Linked DNA regions of Homo sapiens: regions 2 and 3 are each linked to region 1. Evidence: promoter capture Hi-C in human tissues and cell types (Jung and others, 2019). All regions are on one chromosome and are shown on one strand. The core of a region is centred on a gene start or on the middle of the fragment in contact, and the rest is flanking DNA. Distances in the headings are between cores, read along the strand shown. Region 1 holds the start of CCDC146 (coiled-coil domain containing 146). Region 2 overlaps GSAP (gamma-secretase activating protein). Region 3 overlaps GSAP (gamma-secretase activating protein).

Region 1 (3,676 bases), core at 725-3,224:
AAACCACAAATAGTACCAAATCCTATATATTCTATGTTTTTTCCTGTATACATATCAATGATCAAGTTTAATTTATAAACTAGGCATAGTAAGAGATGAACAACAATAATAATAAATACAGCAATTATAACAATATACTGTAATAAAAGTTATATTACTGTGATCTGTCAAAATATCTTAATATTTTCCTACAACAGTTGAGGCAGGTAACAAACTCAGACAGCCAAACGGTGGATAAGGGAGGACTACGGCATCTACTATTTGGGCAACTGTAAGCATTATAAAAGATGATCTTAAAAATGCTAAATGCTATTATTATTACCATCATCATCATCATCAATATCTTCCTTCAGTCCCAGGAAGAATGACAGTCTGGGGAGCCCTTCCTAGAAAAGTGTGTGTACACAGTGGCTTGCCATTTAGGAAAACCTAAGAAAGGTATCTTGCAGGCATTATTATTGAAGCTTCCTAGGCAGGCTTACCATGTGTTTTTCTTCAAAGCTTGCTACTCATGGAAAACTTAGGCCAAAAAGAATGGAAACATAACAGTAAGAAGCTGGGCGCCCGTCTAAAACCAAATACTCAAACCAGGTGGTACCTGGAACATCCTATTGACAGGGCTGTTTTGGGACACACCCCCAGGCTGTGAGCAAGGGGAAATGTAGATGGACTGCCATACCATTGAATGAATTGTCAAGAAACTTCAACCTTGAAAAATAAGCCAGTTTGCTAATGACAACGGGATAAAGAAGAACACAAGCGGCTCCAGAAATAGAATTTGACCTGGATTATACCAAATCGTGTTTCCATTCGATGTATAAAATTTCTATAATTGGGAACCTAATTTTTTAAATACTACTCGGATACTCAAGAATAGAACAGAGGAAAAGTTGCATTTCCGAAGGGGCCAACTGTAAATTAGGTTTAGAAAGCCAGGACCAATTAAAAGTGCACGTCGACCAAATTTATTAAGTTCACTGTGCGTTCCCTGGGACCCAAACCCGTTTTCACTTCACTTCACTTGCCAAACTTCAGGGGCGCGTTCACCTCCACGGACGCCTGGGGGTGGATAGTATCAGACACAATGGCCATCTCCTCCAGATCCTCGTCGTACTTCACCTGCAGGCCGTCCAGGCCCCGCACGCCGCCCTCCACGCCGCACACCGCGACCAGCACGCGGTCGCCATCCGGGTAGGTGAGGGGGTCCAGGGGCCTCACGGCCAGGTGGCACGGGAGCCGCGCCCGCAGCCGACCGAACGGGCTCACCTGCAGTGTCCACTCCTTCAGAGTTCGGCGCGCCGGGCCAGGCGGAGGGACCTCAGTCTCCGATCCGGGCCAGCGCTCGCCCCTACCTGAGCTGTACGGCCTGGCTTGGCAAGCCCAGCAAGACCAGCGCCCAGCGCCAGCCCACAGTCGGACCTGACGGAGACAGAGACGGAAGCAGCCAAGCTCCCAACCTGAACAGGGGGCAAGCATGGCGCGCCTCTCTCGCCAGTCCTCAGAACACTTCAGCCACAGGGAGGGTCACTTGCCACGGCCAATCGACTTGGCCACTGTGCCGCCTCAAGTCAAATAGGAGACGTAAGTCAGGGTTTGCTGAAACAAGAGCGAGCCGGTTGGCTTGACTAGGCGATGTAAACATCAGCTGCGTAATCCCCAGGGGCAAGTTGGGATTTGAAAGCTCTGAACTCTGACCTGGACCCCTTGCCTAAGTCCACCCCCTTTCGCTAAGGCCGACGGGATACGTAGTTCTAAAGCGGTGGAAAGTCGCAGAGCTCCGCCTCTTAGAAACCACATATCCCAGGAGGCAATGCGCAGGGGAGCACGGGTAAGAGGGCAGGTGTTAGAATCGCTGGAAAGGCGGGCGCCCTTTGTTTCAAGACCATTGGCTATTGGAGGGGCGGTACATGGGAGGCCACTGGCCAATGGGAAGCACGGAAGGGGGCAACGAGGGTAAAGCTGCATGGTCACCTTGGATACCAAGGACGCGACTTCTTGTTTGGAGAGGGTGGAGCTTTGGAGTGAGACCCAGGAGGCCAAATCCCAAAGAGAAAAATAGGAGCCTAAATAAGGATCAGGACCAAGGGAAGGGGTAAGAAACTGCGCTTTTTAAGTTGACAACTAGGTGCAAACTAGGAGTAACCTATGTGGATGTCAAGATCCAAGCTTCACTAACCTAGTGCGGGCATCTCCAGGGCATGGAGAATGCCTTGGTAAGAGAGTAAAGAGCAAGATTGGTGCTTTTTGAGGGAATTGCCTCTTTGGAAGTGTATTCCCTCCTATATTCCAAATATAGGAATAGAGTACTTGCTCCGTCCTGACCCTAAGTGACCTTACTTTGGGTTTTAATTTGCTCACTTTAAAAATGTAGATGATAATACCTTCCTTGCCTTGCCTCAAAGGGTTTTTGTGAGGATCAAGTAAGAAAATGGATGGGACCGTGGTGCACAGTCTACCAAATTACCGTGTAAAGTACTGTATTTTTATTTCAACGTACTTAACATTGATTCTGAGTTACCAAGAAAATTATGAGAGATCAGAACTTGTTTTGAGAATAGCATTGATCTCTTTGACTACAAATGATCATCAGTTTTAGAGTGAAAAAAAAAAAGACACAAAAAAGAGAGTCACCATGGTGCGGTGGAAAGAGCAGGGACAAGGGTCAGATTATTTTCCTGGCTCTGCCACTGCTTCATCTGTGTCACCTAGACCTGTTTCTTTAGTTTTAAAATGAAGAAAGATGGTTCTAAATGACCCTATAAGGTGTGTGTGTGTGTGTGTGTGTGTGTGTGTGTGTGTGTGTGTGTGTGTGTGTGTTTACCTTTTATAATTCTATGGGCAGTAAAATAATGGGAACAGAAAGATTTATTTTCTTCTTTTTTTCTTCTTTCCTGCCTGGTTTCTCTCTCCCCCTCTGTGCCCCTACTTCCTCCTAAAATGTATTCCCTAAATTATTTAGCCAAGACACCTGCAAACACTAACATTTCATAAAATGCAAGTGCCTTAAAAAATTGAAGCCCTTACCCAAGTACAATGACCAGAATTCTTGGGGCTATCGTGATAGATAGACTGGGCTAAAGTTCTCATGGGTACAAGTCTCAGGTTCTCTGCTAGCCACTACCTTTTTAAAATTTTTAAAAATTCAGTGTTCTCTTAAGTTATCATTGCCTCTTTTCTGTCCTTCTAGTCCTTGCTCCCTCCTTATTCTTCTTTCGGTGAAGACTCACTCATTATAGGTGCTAGCTCAGGTTCAGCAAGGGCCCACTGCAATAGTTCTTTTCTTGTCTTTGTGTTTCATTGGTTATAATTATTCAGAATAATCTTCAAACTATTTTTTATGAAAATTGACAGGTGTAACTTTGAAAAGAAATTTGAAAAAGGCACTGGTTTAAGGAAGTTGAGAATGTACTCAAATTTTCTGTAGAAACACTAGACATTTTTAGATTAAATATTAATTCTTAATAGTTAATTCTGTGTCTATGGTAATTTTTCCGTTTCTGAGACAAACTAAGTTAATGGAATTGGCAACTGAACTATAATTTTCTATGTTGCATAATCATTATTTTACTTTTTCAAACAAAAACCAAATAGAATTGACTGAAAATTTACTTTGCTGATCATACAAGGTTGAAAATGGAGAAAATTATTAATATTAAGATTGGTATAAAATAGTTAA
Region 2 (3,676 bases), core at 862-3,361, 230 kb after region 1:
GGTGTGAATACGGACACACCAGTTAACCTTTGTGAGCATCACTGTACTGCCTCCTGAGGGAGGGATAATCCCTGCTATACCATCAACTCGCTCATCTCCATAATCATCCTCACCTGCTAGAGGAATGTTTTCCATCTCAGCACTGACAGATATTATAAGGCACGCCTAACCATGGTGCACACTTGCACTTCTGCTCCTACCAGTAAGCTGTTTAATTCAAAACCGATTTATGTTATTGTACTTATTTTCAAAATTAGGTAATACGATATTACTATCGACAAGTAAAATGTGGATGCAGAGAGTGTCATTGGGTCAGTAAAAGTTGAATGCTTTGTAAAGAGTCAAAGGCATGTCTCTAAAACACTAGAAAATTAGGTTTAGGGGAAACAACTAAAAAAGATTGGGTAAAAAATGCCTGGTATACACAGCTTGCTTTGTAAGGGTCTTTAAATTACTATATCCTTAGAAATAAAAATTTTTAAAAAGTAACAGGAAGTTAGAGGTAACTCATTACTAGTGCTTTTATGCATGAAAAATGATGTTGAACTTCAATTAGCAGATGCACAAAGAAAGGCTTGAGTCAAAACATGGGTGAATAATGTACATTGTTATGTTTCAGGTTAAAATAAAACGTCTAATGTCTTTTTTTTTTTTTTTGTAGTTAACCAGCCACTCTTTGATCTTAACCACATCTGATAAAGAGATTTTTCTGACTTCACAGGATAGCTGTAAAATAACACAGAATGCACGTGGAAGTACTTAATAAACTCTAATGTGAAATACAAATGTAAGCTATTTTTATTACAAATGTAATAAATATCTGCCACCAGATTTTAGTCCTTTTGATAATTATAGATCAAATACAGACCAGGAGAAAAAGTAGATATTTAAGAAACGCATTATTTACTGAGCTCTTCATTGAAATATTACTGACATAGCTAAACTTTTATTCCCAATATGGAAAAGGGGGTACCCAAAAGAACAGAAACACCCTGAGTGTGAGACCTGGTAGGGATCCATAAAAAAGCAGCGCAAAAGATGACGATGTCAGCAGCAAGGCCACACACCTCAATTAATTGTTACTAAATAAAAATAACTCCTGACCATTTTCAACCACAAAATAAATATGTTCAGTGTCGTCTATCTGCCCATTTTAAAACATGAGCTATCTTCTCACCTGGGCTTCCAGGAACTGCGCACCTTGACCGCAGTAGAGCGCGCAGTGCAACGCAGCCATCTTCTCACAGTCTAAGCAAGTGTTCTGCAGAAGCTGTAATAAAGACGACTGGCTGAGCAGTGCTCTATAGAGCTTTCCAGAACAACAATCCAATACCAGGGACCCTGACAATGACTGTAAAGGGCAATGAGGTAGCATATCAATCATTTCATTATTTCCTGGCAAAAAAAAAAAAAACAGTAGATCAGCAAATAGAAGAAACTCCTTTCACCCAAACATAGATATTAAAGTCAAAACAAACTCAAATGGGCCACCTCTACAAGAGAAAAACTATAGCCGTACCTGTCAGAAAGAGATTGTGGCAGATCAGGTCTGGATGTTGAACATTAAGTAGGTGGAAGAAATGACCAGGTAAGTAAACAGCCACATAATAGTCTATAGAAGAGAAAGATTTACATCATCTACATGTGGTAAAAGCTGCACAGGTACAGAATGTCACATTATCCCTGCTTGTCTCTGAATATCTCAAAAGGCAAAAGTTTTACCAATGTAATAAGCTATCTAATGACAGCCCGTTTTTTTTTTTTTTTTTTTAAGACAGGGTCTGACTCTGTCACCCAGGCTGGAGTAGCGGTGGTGTGATGTCGGCCCACTGCAGCCTCAAACTCCTGGGCTCAAGTGATCCTCCCCACCTCAGCCTCCCAAGTAGCTGGGACTACAGGACTGTGCCCACAACACCCCACTAATATTTTCTATTTTTATAGAGATGGAGTCTCACCATGTTGCCCAGGCTGGTCTTGAACTCCTGGGCTCAAGCAATCCTCCTGCCTCGGCCTCCCAAAGTGCTGGGATTACAGGCATGTTGCCCAGGCTGGTCTTGAACTCCTGGGCTTGAGCAATCCTCCTGCCTCAGCCTCCCCAAATGCTGGGATTACAAGCATGAGCCACCACACCCAGCCACATTTCTCTTACTAGGTAAACCTCATTTATTTCCATCTTTGGCTAATTTTCTTCAGATATTTAGCTATGGTTATCTTAATTTATACCTGCAGTTTTGTTTCTAAGTGATTTGTGGCTTTATGTGAATCTAAATGATCTCAGAGCAAATTAGAATAAAAATATCAAGCAACACGAATTATTCCTTAATTTGATAAGCTGGAAATAGCCTATATTGGGAATTTTCTTCATAATTTCTGCCAGTTTCGGGAAGCTCTAAAATTTTGTTGCCCATGTTTGTCCAGTGATCATCATTATCATCATCAGTAGCAGGAGCATTTTGTTTAGAGAACCTTTAAATCGATATTCATCAGAATAATCTCTGCAGACACATTGACACTTTGTGAAGTACTAATTTATTTCCTTGCATATCAAGCTGACTAGAATTCACACCTTCAGTCCCTGCACTAGATATTTTTGAATCAAGAACATTTGTACTCAGATGGAGACAAGGTATAAAAAATAGGTTTCTGGAGAATGGAAGGGTGGAAGTAGCCCTTGCCAATACTTTTTCTAGGATCTTAGAAAACAGAAATTCACACAGTAGTAATTTTATATAGATGAAACATTTAGATTATAAGTGAGCCAGCTAGACTCCTTTTCCTAAGAAGTGAAGGAACACATGCTAATCATTTGCATAGAAGGCGTTCTGTGGAAAGGGAAGAGGATATAGAACTCAAACCAGTTGACTTACAAGTGTCCTTTCAGTCAACGTGGATTAAATGATGCTAAAGTGCTTAGCACAAATGGTTGCAATCATCTTATTATAGCAACACTTTACTAGAAAACCACAAACAACAATACAGTGGGACATAATGGAAAGGGTATCGGCATCAAATGACCTAGTTACCTCCCAGCTGTACCACTTAACTAGTTAATTAGGATGGCACTATGTCCGTGGGGTGGTGGCATTTGAAAATATATGACAGTGATTTGGGTTGTTAACATCATTGAGGTAGTGAGAGGGAGATTCCTATTTGGCATTTGGTGAGTAGGCTCTAGGGATGGATGTTCAGTCCCTCAATGAACAGGGAATTTTTGTCTCACCAAAAGGGGCAGTAGTATCTGTGGTAGGCTGAATGATGGCTCCTGAAGATATGCACGTGCTAATCCCCAGAGCCTGTGAATAGGGTAAAAGAGATCTTGCAGATGTGACTAGGATCTTGAGATGGGGAGACTATCCTGGAATATCCAGGTAGACACAGGTAGGCACAAAAGTCCTTATGAGAGGGAGATTTGACTAGAGAAGAGAAGACGACCATACAATGAGGAAAGTAGTTGGAACGAAGTGGCCACAAGCCAAGAAATACTAGCCTCTAGTCAGGGGTGTCCAATCTTTTGGGTTCCCTGGGCCACACTGGGAAGAAGAAGAATTGCCTTGGGCCACACATAACATACACTAATAACAGCTGATAGCTAAAAAAATTAAAACCTCAAAAAAATAATGTTTTAAGAAGGTTTACAGATTTGTCTTGGGCCACATTCAAGCCATCCTGGGCTGTG
Region 3 (3,676 bases), core at 642-3,141, 190 kb after region 1:
GCTTCAAAGGACAGATGCAATTCCTATCAGTGGAAATGAGTGCGGACAGTAGAAAAAGCCAGGTTTGGCATGAGCAGCCCTAGGCCAGAATCCAGCTGTATTACTCACCAGCTGCAGGCAACTAAGCCTTTCTGAGCCTCCATTTCTTCATCTCTAAATTGGAACCACCAGTACCTTTCCCACAGGGCTGCTTTGAGAACTAGAGCCAGGTCTGTGAAGAGCCTAGCATGCAATATAACAATAGCGACCCATACTGGACATGTACCAAGGCTTTCAACCTGTGTCCTGGCTCATCTGATCCTCATACAAAAGTATGGGGTGGGAATTACTAGATTCCCATTTCATAAATGGAAAAACCAAAAGCCAAGATTCACAGGAGCTAGGCAACTTGCCCAGGATCACAGAAATAATAATGTGTAAGTTGAAATTTGCATCAACTGTGTGATTGTAGGGTAGGCTTTCAACCATAATGTCACTGTTAATAACTGGCAGCTGTGTTAATAGAACATGAACAGAGGTCCGAAGATGAGAAAGCACAGGGCATATTCAGAAAATAGTAAATGATCCAGCTGGGTTGGAATCATATTAGAGGAGAGAAAGATTAAGAGGTAAGGTTGGAAAAGCTAATTTATTCAGCACATCCCTTCCACACACCTGGCAAGGGGCTAAGAGTATAAAAATGAGCAAAACAGGCACAACTGCTGCTCCCATACACCTTGCAGTCTGCTGGGGGAGGCAGACAATCAATTACAAAAAATAGACATTTTTAAAAATGTGACCAGTTCTGTGCTTATGAGTGCAGGTGACAGAGGTTGAATGCTGAATGATAGAGATTTATTAATTTGAGAGACTTTGAGGAGGTAATGAAAGTTTTTAAGCAGAACAGAAGATTTACCATTGGGATATTAATATGGCAACAGGCAAAGAATGAGTTGGAGTAATAATTTGCTACAGAAGGTATGAAGACCTGTAGAGAAGCTATTGCCTGAACGTGGATAAGAGGTAATGGAGGCACTGAATCAGAGAGGCATGGTAACATGTACAGGCTTTGCAACTCATTGAATGTGGGAATGACTGACAGAAGAATCATAGCCTACTCTTGGGAAGGTACCTGACAAAAGGATGATGCCCAACGAGCAGGGCTTGGATTCAGAGAAATCATGGGATTTTCTCTCTCTAAACACATGAATCACAAGCCATGGGGCACAGTCCTAAGTCCTTGTAACATCAAGGGTCAGATGAAGTACAGGCTCTGCCCACAAGCATGTGTTAATGGGCTAACAGGATGAGTCCACTAGCTTCCCTGAGTCCAAAAAAACTCCACTATTTTACTAGTTAATTAACAACAACGTTTTTCAAATGGATTTGGAAATTCTTCACAAAACTATTAGTAAAAAGTTACAAAATTATTTCTGAAGAAAAGTTTACACTAGATTATTGATGATATTGATTTTCTGGATTCAAATTTCCCTCTCCAGCCCTGTGTTCATATGCTAAAGGTCCCTGATGACCCTTCATCCTCTATCCCCAGGGCACAGTCCCAAGTTCAGGGACCTGTTCTTGGCCTCTATACATCAGCTCTGAGCAACAGAGCAAATTGGCTATAATTAGTCATCAGCTCCACCCAACTTTAATCCTCATCTTCCAGGGCTCCTGGCCTCCTCTAGCCAGCAAGTGCAATACAGTTCCTTTTTTTAAAAGCAAATGCCCTAGCTCTAAACCCTGACTTCCTTTTTGTGTTCCCCATTCTCTTCTTAACTTTAACCAATTCATGTTACAAGTCTCTGACAATCGTAACTCAAACAGTCATCATTAGTCCAATAGGCCTGGAAAGCAAGCACACTTACGCATGTGCATATAGAAACACCCTGAATTCATACAAGCATGCACATGCACACACACACATGATCCAGTGTCACCTCCCCCCTCTATTTCCATGTCACATGATGGAAATAAACATTCAAGAGAAAAGGAGAGAGCATGGAATACTATGCAGCCATAAAAGAGGATGAGTTCATGTCCTTTGCAGGGACATGGATGAAGCTTGAAACCATCATTCTCAGCAAACTATCCCAAGGACAGAAAACCAAACACCACACATTCTCACTCATAGGTGGGAATTGAACAATGAGAACACTTGGACAAGGGTTGGGGGGGAACATCACACACTGGGGCCTGTCGTGGGGTTGGGGGCTGGGGGAGGGATAGCATTAGGAGAAATACCTAATGTAAATGACGAGTTAATAGGTGCAGCAAACCAACATGGCACATGTATACCTATGTTACAAACCTGCACGTTGTGCACATGTACCCTAGAACTTAAAGTATAATTAAAAAAATGAGAAACACCTTTTCCTTACCTGACCCACAGACACAAGCCATAAGTCTACTTATAATAATTCTCGATCACTATGGATAACATCTTTGTTTTCCCTCCTTATCACTGTGAAGGAATGTGAGTTGGGTAGAAAGTGGATTTTTATGATCTCCAGGCGTAACAATGTCCCCAGTAAGTCAGTTTCATTTATTTTCAAAAGAAGCTTGAATATCTGTAATGAACAAATCTAAAACTGTCAATCCATTTCCCTACCAAATTTTTTGTGTTAACAACAAACAATTAAGAATTTAAGCCACAAAGGTAGTTTTCCTGTAATCCTTCAATCTTTCTAGGGTGTACCTCATAACTCATATTCCATTGGGATAATTTTAAACCATCCATTCCCCTCACAAATGGTCCCTTTCAACTCCTTTTGTACTGCCATACAGACAGACATTAAATAAGGTGGATGAAGAATGAAGGATTCCAAACCGTATCAGATGTGTCATAAATGCAGAGCAGCATATGCTGTAGGGATTCTTTAGGCCCATAAATAGCCCATGTTTCAACATCAACTAATTCAACTGGAATATAAAATTCAAGAAGCAGCATGGATTTTGGAGCCAAACTGCCTGGATTTGAATATCAGCTCTGTCACTTAATAGCTATGTGACTTTAGGCAAATTACTCAACCTTTCTGGCCTCAGTTTCACCATCTATAAAATGGGAATAATATTAAGTGGAACCACATGAAAGTGCCATTTTTGTTGGCCAAAAAATGGTTGGGCACTGACAATTTAATGTGGTCCAACTTAAGTTTCTACCAGTTAAAATTTTATGAAAATTAAGTGTACTAATTTGTGTGTACTTTCAACAGTACGTGGCACAAAATGAGTATCATATATATGTTGGCCTAAAATGAAGCAATGAACAAATGATGAATGGATGAATATATATGAATGAAGTAACTAAATATCAGCTGATATGTAGTTACAGCTATCATAAAGTTTAACACTCATTAGAACTTTATATGCAATAATAAATCCATTCATGTTTAGGCAACTAATCTTCAAAAGCACCAAGAACACACAATGGGGAAAGGATCGTGTATCTCTGATAAATGGTGTTGGAAAAACTGTCCATAGGCAAAAGAATGAAATGGGACCCTTATCTTTACCATAAACAAAATTCAACTCAAAATGCATTAGAAAGTTAAACATAAGACCTGAAACTGAAAAACCCCTAAAAGAAACATAGAGGGAAAGCTTCTTGACATTGGTCTTGGCAATGATTCCTTGAATATGACATCCAAAGCACAAACAATGAAAACAAAAATATGTAAGAGGGACTACACCCAAC

What was found. Contacts are between HindIII fragments. The study calls those that stand out against the background at their distance.
Region 2: a contact is called between a fragment that was not itself captured here and the fragment with the promoter of CCDC146 in region 1, in 2 of the 25 tissues and cell types used here (aorta and pancreas).
Region 3: a fragment that was not itself captured here is called in contact with the fragment with the promoter of CCDC146 in region 1 in 7 of the 25 tissues and cell types used here (aorta, dorsolateral prefrontal cortex, hippocampus and 4 more).

What each region holds. Positions count from the first base shown.
Region 1 is chr7:77,120,641-77,124,316 of GRCh38, forward strand. CCDC146 (coiled-coil domain containing 146) reads left to right here and starts at 1,975. Exons shown (of 19, transcript NM_020879.3): 1 at 1,975-2,092. It also overlaps the pseudogene FAM185BP. RefSeq lists enhancers at 764-1,265, 1,266-1,765 and a silencer at 1,661-1,760. The HindIII fragment of the contact is 9,649 bases long and covers 1-3,156 here.
Region 2 is chr7:77,354,036-77,357,711 of GRCh38, forward strand. GSAP (gamma-secretase activating protein) reads right to left here. Exons shown (of 31, transcript NM_017439.4): 15 at 1,520-1,612; 16 at 1,178-1,395. Among named protein-coding and RNA genes, the nearest start is that of GSAP, 60 kb to the right of the region's middle. The HindIII fragment of the contact is 5,107 bases long and covers 1-3,676 here.
Region 3 is chr7:77,315,196-77,318,871 of GRCh38, forward strand. All of the region lies in intron 26 of GSAP (gamma-secretase activating protein), which reads right to left. Among named protein-coding and RNA genes, the nearest start is that of CCDC146-AS1, 68 kb to the left of the region's middle. RefSeq lists an enhancer at 897-1,398. The HindIII fragment of the contact is 3,482 bases long and covers 151-3,632 here.